Regions from separate parts of the Homo sapiens genome. Here regions 2 and 3 are each linked to region 1. The links are contacts of gene promoters, found by promoter capture Hi-C in blood cells and fetal thymus (Javierre and others, 2016). All regions are on one chromosome and are shown on one strand. Each heading gives the region's core, a stretch centred on a gene start or on the middle of the fragment in contact. The rest is flanking DNA. Distances are from core to core; before and after follow the strand shown. Region 1 holds the start of PLCG1 (phospholipase C gamma 1). Region 2 overlaps ZHX3 (zinc fingers and homeoboxes 3). Region 3 overlaps ZHX3 (zinc fingers and homeoboxes 3).

Region 1 (3,408 bases), core at 909-3,408:
ACCTGCCACTAGGTGGCAGTCCATCTCAGCTACCCCACCGCTCCTTACTCCACAGAGGCTGGCTAGGACAAAGGGTCTCAATGTCATGCTGAATTCTGAGCTTCTTAGGGGACGCACTTGAGGAAATCAACGTTAACACACAAGTTTCCACTACAGCAAGACAAAGTCAGAAGCAGCAGCCCCAGGTCACTATCCAGCTGAGTGGGTTGCCTGAGCACACGCTCTTACAAACTCTAGTCTAGTCCTACTATCTCACAATTCCCAGGAAGCCTGGCTCTTTCTCTGGCATCAGCTGGAAGCTCTGTTGGGCTTCTCACCTCTGAAATGCAGTAAGTTGTCCTGCTGTGCCTGGCAGCCGACCCACTGCCTGGCTCAACATGTCAGACAGGCTCCACCGCGACCGTGGGTGTCCTCAATTTTGGCGGTGCTGACAAGGGTAGATAGATTGCAGGGGTGAGTTTCAAGAATGGCTTCAGAAAGACAAAGAGTATGAATTATATTCCATAACCAGAAAAAGGCCTTGTGGCTGGAGAATGGAGAGTGAAGGATCACTTGTGAGAGATGAAACTGGTGAGATGGGCAGGTCATATAGAACCTGCTAGGCCAAGCAGGGAGTGTGGATTTTAGGTGCAATGGGAATTCACGGAGGGTTTTAGCCTGGATGTAGGGGATCATGATTTAATTTCATTTTAAAGATTTAAAGCATGATAAATCCAGGCAAAACCAAACTGATAGATCCAGGCAAAACCAAACAAGGTGAGTAGTCTGGGTGACAGGAGATGGGGCCTTCAGCTTGTGGGCTGAGTGACAAGGTCTTGATGGATTGGAGGTGAGGCAAAGGGAGGAATCAAAGTTAGCTGCAAGGTTTTTGACCTTCCAACTTAGAGAAGTTTAGCGCCGCGTTCTGAGAAAGTGAAGACTGTGGAAGGAATCGTTTGGGGAGGGAAGGCGAGCTGTCTAAGGGGGGGGGATGTGGAACATGCAGTGGGATGCTGGGGCCTGGAACGTAGGGGAGATGCAGGTTTGGAGTCACCGGTGCCTGTGTTGTTGGGCAAAGCCAGGGGAAAGGTCAGGTCGCCTTGGGATCTGGCCTAGCACTGAGTGCAGAGGAAGAGAAGCTTCTGAGATCGAGAGGCAGCGGCTACAGGAGGAGGAAGAAAGCAAGGCGGGGAAAACCAAAGTTCAGGAGAGCATTTGCAGGAGGGCGCTGCGGGGTAGGGTCTGAGTCGGAGCCCCGAATCGGACTCGAGTCCTGTCGCGTGGGGACGGAGCGTGCAGAGGCCCATGCGAGGGACAGACACAAAGGCCCTGGGAGCTGCAGGTCAGACCACTGGACAGCGCGGCCGCGGACCTAACGCCCCTGTAAGGGGTGCTCACGCTTGGGGGGAACTCTCCGAAAGAGAGGACCACTGAAAGCCACCCTGGCAGCAGGGGCGGAACAGACAGACGTGGGTCTGGCCGTCGCCAGAACTGCCTGCGGACCAGCCCCGCGCTGCCGGGGGGGCGGGACATGTCGGCTGTCCATCAGTGCCCGCGACCAATCCGCAGGCAGCCCCGCCCCCGCCCCTCCCGGGAGAGGGCGCGCGGAGGACCCGCCGCCGCCGGTGTGAGGCGGCCCGTCCTGGCTCCCTTGTCCGGGAAGCCCGCCCAGGTAACTGAGTTTGGCCGGGCATTCCCGGAGGACGCGCCATCCCCTCACGTCCCGTCCCGGTCGCTGCATGGGCGGTGTTCGGGACGCGGGGGCTGCGTCTGTGCGGGACCGCGGGGTAGCGGCCGCCCGTGCGAGTACGCCTGACTGACGCGCCGGCCGCCGGGCCTGCGGCCTGTGGGCGGGGCTGCCGTGCGTGACAGGGCCGCTCGTGGCCGCCGGGCTGTGTCCGGGGCCGCGTGAGAAAGCTCTGCGGGACTGAGGGCTGGGTGGGTCGACCGGGAACGGCGCGCGCTCCCGCCGCCATCGCGCCTCCGTCCCCGCCTGCGGCCTGTCTGGGGGTCGCGGGGCGCAGGCGCGGCGGGCCGACGGGCGGGGGTCCTCCCCACGGGTGCGCGGGCGCCTTTGTTCCCGGCGCCGAAGCGGGGTGGGGCCTCAGGGCAGCCCCGCCCCGCCGCGCTGAGGCCCCGCCCCGTGTCCGCCTGCAGGAGCCGCCGCCGGGTCCCGCTCGTCTGCCGCCTCAGCCTCAGCCCCAACCTCAGCCGCCGCCGTTGCGCTTGCTCCCGGGCGGTCCTGGCCTGTGCCGCCGCCGCCCCCAGCGTCGGAGCCATGGCGGGCGCCGCGTCCCCTTGCGCCAACGGCTGCGGGCCCGGCGCGCCCTCGGACGCCGAGGTGCTGCACCTCTGCCGCAGCCTCGAGGTGGGCACCGTCATGACTTTGTTCTACTCCAAGAAGTCGCAGCGACCCGAGCGGAAGACCTTCCAGGTCAAGCTGGAGACGCGCCAGATCACGTGGAGCCGGGGCGCCGACAAGATCGAGGGGGCCAGTAAGTGCGCCCACTTCCTGCCTGGGCCCGCCCCGCGCGGGGGTCGTGGGAGCCCGGCCCGACTGCTTGCACCCCGGCCGGCCGCCCCAGCGACTTGGGCAAACTTTCGGGCCCTCCCAGACTCCCTCCGGGCCCCGCCCCCGCTTCGTCTCGGGTGGTCACTGGGGGCGGGGGGCATCCGGGTCCTCGGTCACCTGACAGGACACCCCCCCTCCCCCAGCTGGGGGGAGTGTTCCAGGCGCTTTGCCCTGAGGCCTAAAAATCCTCGCGGGCTGGAGACCTGCGGTGCAGGCATCGGGCCCCCCAGACCCTGGGAGTGGTGGCGGCGTCGGCGAGGGGAGCTAAGGCAGTGGCCCCCACCCTGCACGGGAACCTGGGGCCTGACCAGACGGTCCCCGCCCACTCTTTATCCAGAAAGAGCAGTCTGTGAAACTCTCCGGGCCCCCAGGCTGGGCTCTTATTTGCAAAGGAATCTTTGGGTTCCCTAAGTAGAACTTAGGCAGATGTTGGGTAGGGCTGGTCTTGGAGCAGAGCTGGGCCTACTCATCTCCCTCTGGGGGAGAGGGAGGAAGGTGGTCTTGTTTGGTTTGGAGAAGCCTGAGAGAAGCCAGTGGCTGGAATTTTTTTTTTTTTTTTTCTGCTACTTTTGTCCCAAAGCTGGGTTTTGGAGGCCTATGTGGGTGGGCAGACACTCAATGCCAGGGCAGGGACTCCCCTTGCCCTGGGAAGCACGTTCCCAGGAGATGGGCCCCATAAAGGCCTGCCCCAGCGCCTTGGAGTCAGGTATTCTTCTCAGGAGTGCAGCTAGTTTGTGAGTCTAGCCCTTTGTCCTCTGTCCGGTGGCTTCAGGGAGCGGGAGCGGCTTCTCTTAGTTTCCTGCCTTTTCGCCTTCCCAGGCCTGAGCTTGGCTGCTTTTGCGCTGGTCTCTAGTGGG
Region 2 (3,408 bases), core at 288-2,787, 100 kb after region 1:
TATAAAGACACATGCACATGTATGTTTATTGCGGCACTATTCACAATAACAAAGACTTGGAACCAACCCAAATGTCCAACAAAGATAGACTGGATTAAGAAAATGTGGCACATATACACCATGGAATACTATGCAGCCATAAAAAATGATGAGTTCATGTCCTTTGTAAGGACATAGATGAAGCTGGAAACCATCATTCTCAGCAAACTATCGCAAGGACAAAAAACCAAACACCGCATGTTCTCACTCATAGGTGGGAATTGAACAATGAGAACACACAGACACAGGAAGGGGAACATCACTCACCAGGGCCTGTTGTGGGGTAGGAGGAGTGGGGAGGGATAGCATTAGGAGATATACTTAATGTTAAATGAAGAGCTAATGGGTGCAGCACACCAACATGGCACATGTATATGTAACAAACCTGCACGTTGTGCACATGTACCCTAAAACTTAAAGTATAATTAAAAAAATAAAATAAAATAAAGAAAATATGTTTTATTAACAAACAGCATATTTTATAATGGCGGTGATCAATATTTATTAAACACAAGGTTCTAGAGGGCTCTTCTGGTAGGATAATTCTAAGAAAGAGGTTCCAGATGTCAACTTACATATTCCCTTATAAAACACAGCCCTGGCTTACACAGTATCTGGTGTACATGTCTCTTCTCTCCAATGAACTATAAGATCTTTGAGGTAAGGGTTCAGTGCTGCACCACTCAGCTACACTAATGGCAATGTGCACACAGTGAGCACTCATTAAATACATCAGTTACAGTTCACTTGCAGTTGCTTGCTTACTACCAAAAACCGGGGTCAATCATTATAAGCATTCCCATCCAACACCCAATTTGTTGCATGGGGAATGAACTTCAGTTTGGGTCCCTTGCTATTAAAGCACTCAATACCCATTATTTGTTTGCATTTATGTCGAACTCATAGATGCAGGATCTGAAAAGTTAAATGAAGCTTAACATAGGCATCCAAATAAAATTAATTAGAATTTATATCTCAACTATTTCTAACAGAGTTTGAGTAACAAGACTCAACAGAAGGAAAACAGGGTAATAACAGAGACTAAGAGGGAAAAAAAGGAAGGCAGCAGGGAGTGAAGGCTGGAGAAGAGAAGAAGGAAGGAAAAGAAGGAGGGACAGAGGGTGGAAACATCTATCTAAGCAAGAGCTTCTTCCTCAAGTCAAAAATTTCTGCAAAAAACAACATCTTTTTGGACAAATTTACATGATGCTTCTAACATCTGCTCATTGTGAAAAATGCAGGATAAAAACCTACAAATTCAGTATTTTTAGTATTTTTATCTAAATTTATATTTCATCAAAACAAGATAAATTTGAAAAATATTAATACATATATAGGCAAGACATTTCCTTACTTTGCGGAAATATGCTCACATAAATAATCCATTCTTTGCCAAAATAGAGCCCTTCCAACACCTGTTCCCCAATCTCCAAGGCAGGGTCTTGGTCCATGGGTTAGAATCACTAAAACACACAAAATACAAGGAAATGTATCTATTAAGCACCATTTGGATTCTAAGATGCAAGTAAGAAACCTAATTTGAAAGGGCTTACATAATAAAGGTGGTTTGCTGGCACATGCAAATGGAAAGTTCAGCGGCTTCAGGTTGAGTTTGAGTCAGTTGCTCTATGATGAAAACAAGGGCCTATTTTCTCTCTCTTTTTTTTTTTTTTTTTTTTTTTTTTGGGAGACGGAGTCTTGCTCTGTCGCCCAGGCTGGAGTGCAGTGGCATGATCTCGGCTCACTGCAAGCTCCGCCTCCTGGGTTCACGCCATTCTCCTGCCTCAGCCTCCCGAGTAGCTGGGGCTATAGGCGCCCACCACCATGCCCCGCTAATTTTTTTTTTTTGTATTTTTTAGTAGAAACGGGGTTTCACCATGTTAGCCAGGATGCTCTCGGTCTCCTGACCTCGTGATCCGCCCGCCTCGGCCTCCCAAAGTGCTGGGATTACAGGCGTGAGCCACCGTGCCTGGCCAATAAGGGCCTATTTTCTTTCTTTCTACTTCGTCAACCACATCCTAGGGGTAGCTTCCCTCGTGACAGCAAGGTAACTCCAGCAGCCCCAAGCTTCATGTCCCAAACATCCAGAAGGACACAGAGAGAGGGCCGTCTTGGGGAGGTCTATCAGAAGACTGAAGAGCCTTCTTCCCAAAGTCCTCAGCAAGCATGCTGGTGGCCTGCACAGGTCACATGCCCAGCCATGAACAAACCTCTTGGCATGACTGCCACTGGGTTAATCACTGTGCAACAGGTGTGGGGTTTACCTGACTGGGCTTAAACAATCAAGATCCATCCCTGGAGCTGGGGGTGGGACCAATCCTTCTCCTACCAGAAGACAGAAACAAACATTCCCTGTTTCCTATGGAAGGGACTGGGGAGGGAGGGAGAAGAGACATTGTGAGAAGGGGAACAATTAGAATGCCCTCCACCCTTCACCTGGCACTGAATTTGACCCTGTGATTCCCAGTATCAAGGGAAAATATGGAAATGTATTTTAAGTGACACTATTTTTATCGTTTAACAAAGACAAATGTTTATTCTTATACAGAGATAAATTCTTTTGAAGGGAAACCCAAGGAGAAGAATGTCTTGGAACTGTGTTTAAGAGAAAATAGGTAAAGCAGGAGGCTTAGTTTGGAAAGATGCAGTCACACTCAATAGGCCATTCCTTTTTTTTTTTTGAGACAGTCTCTTGCTCTGTTGCCCAGGCTGGAGGGCAGTGGCGCCATCTTGGCTCACTGCAACCTCTGCCTCCCAGGTTTAAGCGATTCTCCTGCCTCAGCCTTCCAAGTAGCTGGGACTGCATGTGCATGCCACCATGCCAGGCTAATTTTTGTATTTTTTTAGTAGAGATGGGGGGTTTTGCCATGTTGGCCAGGCTGGTCAACAGGCCATTCCTACATGGATCCTCCAGAAGGCAGAGCATGGGACAGTAAATCATATCATAATCCAGTGAAGTTACTTTGGCAGAGGGCTGAGATGATATAGCTCAGATGCTTTCCCTTCAAATCATCGAACTTACTGCAAAGAGTAGTAACTCACATATCTTAGAACCCCTTTTTTAATGTTTATTTTTGTAGGTACATGGTAGGTATATATATTTATGGGTTACATGAGATATTTTGGTACAGGCATGTGACGCATAATAATCACATCAGGGTAAATGAGGAATTCATCGCCTCAAGTATTTATCCTTTGAATTATACTGTTATTTGTAAATGTACGATTATTTTCTACAATAGTCACCCTGTTGTGCTGGCAAATACTAGGTCTTATTCAATTTTTTTGTACCCACGAACCATCCCTATTTCCCCCCCGTCACTCACCCTACTACCCTTCCCAGCCTCTGGTAACCATCCTTCTACTCTG
Region 3 (3,408 bases), core at 551-3,050, 80 kb after region 1:
AAAAAAAAAAAAAAAAATACAAAAAAATTAGCTGGGCATTATGGCGGGCGCCTGTAGTCCCAGCCACTCAGGAGGCTGAGGCAGGAGAATGGAGTGAACCCAGGAGGCGGAGCTTGCAGTGAGCAGAGATGGCGCCACTGCACTCCAGCCTGGGCGACAGAGCGAGACTGTCCAAAAAAAAAAAAAAAGGAAATAATGGTAGAAGTTGACAGAATTACAGAAACATAACTATAGTGGGAGATTTTAAGATAATATTCTAAAGATCAAGTGGACAAAGAAAAAAGATGTAAAGAATGTGACTACTATGAGGTTGATCTGACAGACATGAATATAGTCTTGAGTATTCTATAGTAATTGACTTCACATTCTACACCATGAAACACATTTAAAAGTTACTCGTGATGTATAACAGACCATAAATAAACCTCAACCCATTCCAAAATAAAAATTCATAGGTAGCATTCCACTATTTAGTGCTAGCAACAAAGACTTACTTTGAAATTTATCCTTTTTACTTTGTTTCAAATTATGCTCTAAGTGGAAATTTCTCTCTCGGAAAGAAAGAAAAGTGAAAATCCTTCCTATTCACCCCCAGAGATAAACCATTGTTAACAGTGCAGTATATATGATTTCAGGCATGTTTCCTAGGCATAGCTTACTATAATTAATTCTTTTAAAAAACCAAAAATGGAATTGTATTTTTACATCCTATTTTGACCCTGAGTTTTCGTCTCACAATTATTTAATTTCAATATCTTTCCATGTCACCATCTCTAGTTTACCTCAGTCTTTTAAACAACTTCAGCATTCTAGGTTATGGATGCATCATAGTTTATTTAACCATTCTCCTGATAAGAGACATTTGCATTTCTCCAGGTTTTTAACTATTACAATGACTCGGTGACCATCCCTGCACATATTTTTATACATTTGAGAATTTCTGAAATACTGAATTTCTTACAAGTAAAATTGCAGTAGCATTTAAAATATTGTTAGCAAAATACAAAATTGTCTTTCAAGTAAACTGTACTGATTTTCGCTGTTACCACCAAAGAACTGAGGATGCACTCACTATCACTGCATATTCTTGCTATTTTCAGTCTTTGTTAATTTGATATATAAAACACTAATTACTAGTATTTGGAATCTACATTTCTTTATGAGCAAGGCTGAATATCTTTTCACATGTCATTGACGATTTTGTATAAAATTATCTTTTGTCCATTTTCCTATGGGATGTCAAGTGTTCTCCATATATTAAGAAAATGGGCTATTCTTTACCTGTCATAGATGAAACTGGGGTTTCATCTCCATTTTTTGGAGCCCATCTACCACAGGAGGCAGTAAATGACATTAAAGAATTACTGTTAATGTTGCTATGTATGATAATGGTATTTCAGTTATGTTACAAACAAAAGTCTTAATCAGTTGGTGATGCACACTCGAATATTTATGGGTAAAATAATTTGTTATATAGGATTTACTGGGAGGAAAAACCCAACCCCCTAGAAAAAAATGAGGGATGGGTAGAAATACATGAAATAAATTTGACCATGAACTTATAATTGTTCAAGTTGGGTTGGGATATATATGGCTCATATATATGCTCTTATGTACATTTGACATTTTCATAATTAAAAAAAAATTAAAAGCTCGAGACATATTTTAAAAAGAAATCTTGTATCATAAATGAAGCTTAAATTTATATTTTTAAAAAACATTCTGTTTTAAATGTTTCTCTCTTCCCTTCCTTTGGAAAATGCTGACCTTGGAAACAAAAATCAGATGCAGCCACCCACCCTACTGCTGCCCAAGCCAATCCTAAGTAAATCAGTTGGCTTGCTGGGAAGTTTCCATGACCGAAAAGAAAACAGAATTCACTTCAATTTCATCATCAAAGTCCACGAAAGCTTGCAAAGCACTTCCATATCCTTCTCAATCCATCCTCATAGTCTCCTGAATTGGTTATTATTGGCCTTCCCTCATTGTAGTATTGAGGAGCTATCGAGCAAGAAAGGGGAGGTGATATGACCAGTCACACACGACATATTTTTGGCAGAGCCAGATATTCTGATTCTAAATTCAGTGTTCTCTTTTAGACTATATTCATTCTGAATACCAACTAAACAATACATCCACTACCTGTAACTATTTTGACATTTTTTTCTTACAGAGGGTTCGAAGATTTTACAACCTGAACTATTCTAGTGTTTTGTTTTGTTCTTTAAAAAGGCTTGACAATGTAGTCCTAGCTACTTGGGAGGCTGAGATGGGAGGATCTCATGAGCCCAGGAGTTTGAGGCTGAAGTGAGAGCTATGGTTCCGTCATTGCATTCCAGTAATGTGGGCAACAGAGCAAGACCCTGTCTCCTAAAAATGAAAAAAGAGGCTGGACCAGTGGCTCATACCTGCAATCCCAGCACTTTGGGAGGCCAAGGAGACAGGATTGCCTGAGCCCAGGAGTTTGAGAACAGCCTGGGCAACATAAGGAGACTCCGTCTCTACAAAAAATTTAAAAAATAGCTGGCATGGTGACACGCATGCTTGTAGTCACAGCTAATTGGGAAGCTGAGGCGGATGACTGCTTAAGCCTGGGAGGTCGTAGCTGCAGTGAGTTGGGATTATGCTACTGCACTTTAGCCTGGGCAACAGAGCAAGACCCTGTCTCTAAATAAATAAATAAATAAATAAATAAATGGTAAAAAGGCTTGACAGTTATTATGATCCTTAGTATTTATAACACTTTTATACCGTCAGAAGAGGGTCTGTATTGCTTACTCTTATGTATTAATAGAGAACTCTTTTAACATGAGGCTTGGTGATTAGACCACGGTAAGTCAGTAGGACTCTATAACAAAAAGAACATGTGGAAAACTGTCCTTCCTCAGGAATGTGTGTGGGCAGGACCTTGGCAGTCCAGTAAGTGGATGTGCTGGTTGCAATTGTCAGATTTCTGCTGAAAACAAAAAAGTTACAAAGAACTCAAGTCTAAATCCTCAAATGTCAAAGCAATGTCAAGCCCAGAGCTGGCCTCAATTTGCCCTCTGGTTACTTAAGGGTCACAATAATTTCTGCATTTAGTAATCACCATCAGCCAAGGGCTCAAGGCTAGAGCTCTCTACTTGTTTTTCCCCCTCAAACAGTGCTGTTTTTTTTTTTTTTTTTTTTTTTTGAGACGGAGTCTCGCTCTGTCGCCTAGGCTGGAGTGCAGTGGCGCGATCTCGGCTCACTGCAAGCTCCACCTCCCGGGTTCACGCCACTCTCCTGCCTCAGCCTCCCAAGTAGCTGGGACTACATGTGTCTGCCACCACGCCCAGCTAATTTTTTGTATTTTTATTAGAGACGGGTTTTCACCGTGTTAGCGAGCATGGTCTCGATCTCCTGACCTCGTGATCCACACGCCTCCGC

The links. The method cuts DNA at HindIII sites, captures the fragments that hold promoters and counts their contacts. A CHiCAGO score of 5 or more calls a contact.
Region 2: a fragment that was not itself captured here is called in contact with the fragment with the promoter of PLCG1 in region 1 in 8 of 17 cell types (naive CD4 T cells, activated CD4 T cells, non-activated CD4 T cells and 5 more); the score reaches 24.2 in naive CD4 T cells.
Region 3: a fragment that was not itself captured here is called in contact with the fragment with the promoter of PLCG1 in region 1 in 7 of 17 cell types (non-activated CD4 T cells, naive CD4 T cells, activated CD4 T cells and 4 more); the score reaches 16.8 in non-activated CD4 T cells.

Annotation. Positions count from the first base shown.
Region 1 is chr20:41,135,385-41,138,792 of GRCh38, forward strand. It overlaps PLCG1 (phospholipase C gamma 1), which reads left to right and starts at 2,159. Exons shown (of 32, transcript NM_002660.3): 1 at 2,159-2,474. The coding sequence starts at 2,258. LOC124904903 (translation initiation factor IF-2-like) reads right to left here and starts at 2,129. Exons shown (of 2, transcript XM_047440629.1): 1 at 318-2,129. The coding sequence starts at 1,955. The coding sequence ends at 1,374. PLCG1-AS1 (PLCG1 antisense RNA 1) reads right to left here and starts at 2,616. Exons shown (of 7, transcript NR_109889.1): 1 at 2,330-2,616; 2 at 318-427. RefSeq lists enhancers at 674-1,458, 2,243-3,027, 2,949-3,048, 3,197-3,276 and silencers at 1,429-2,418, 2,539-2,798. The HindIII fragment of the contact is 8,103 bases long and covers 1,117-3,408 here.
Region 2 is chr20:41,237,295-41,240,702 of GRCh38, forward strand. The region is part of intron 2 of ZHX3 (zinc fingers and homeoboxes 3); the gene reads right to left. Among named protein-coding and RNA genes, the nearest start is that of MIR6871, 70 kb to the left of the region's middle. The HindIII fragment of the contact is 1,134 bases long and covers 971-2,104 here.
Region 3 is chr20:41,215,776-41,219,183 of GRCh38, forward strand. The region is part of intron 2 of ZHX3 (zinc fingers and homeoboxes 3); the gene reads right to left. Among named protein-coding and RNA genes, the nearest start is that of MIR6871, 48 kb to the left of the region's middle. The HindIII fragment of the contact is 215 bases long and covers 1,694-1,908 here.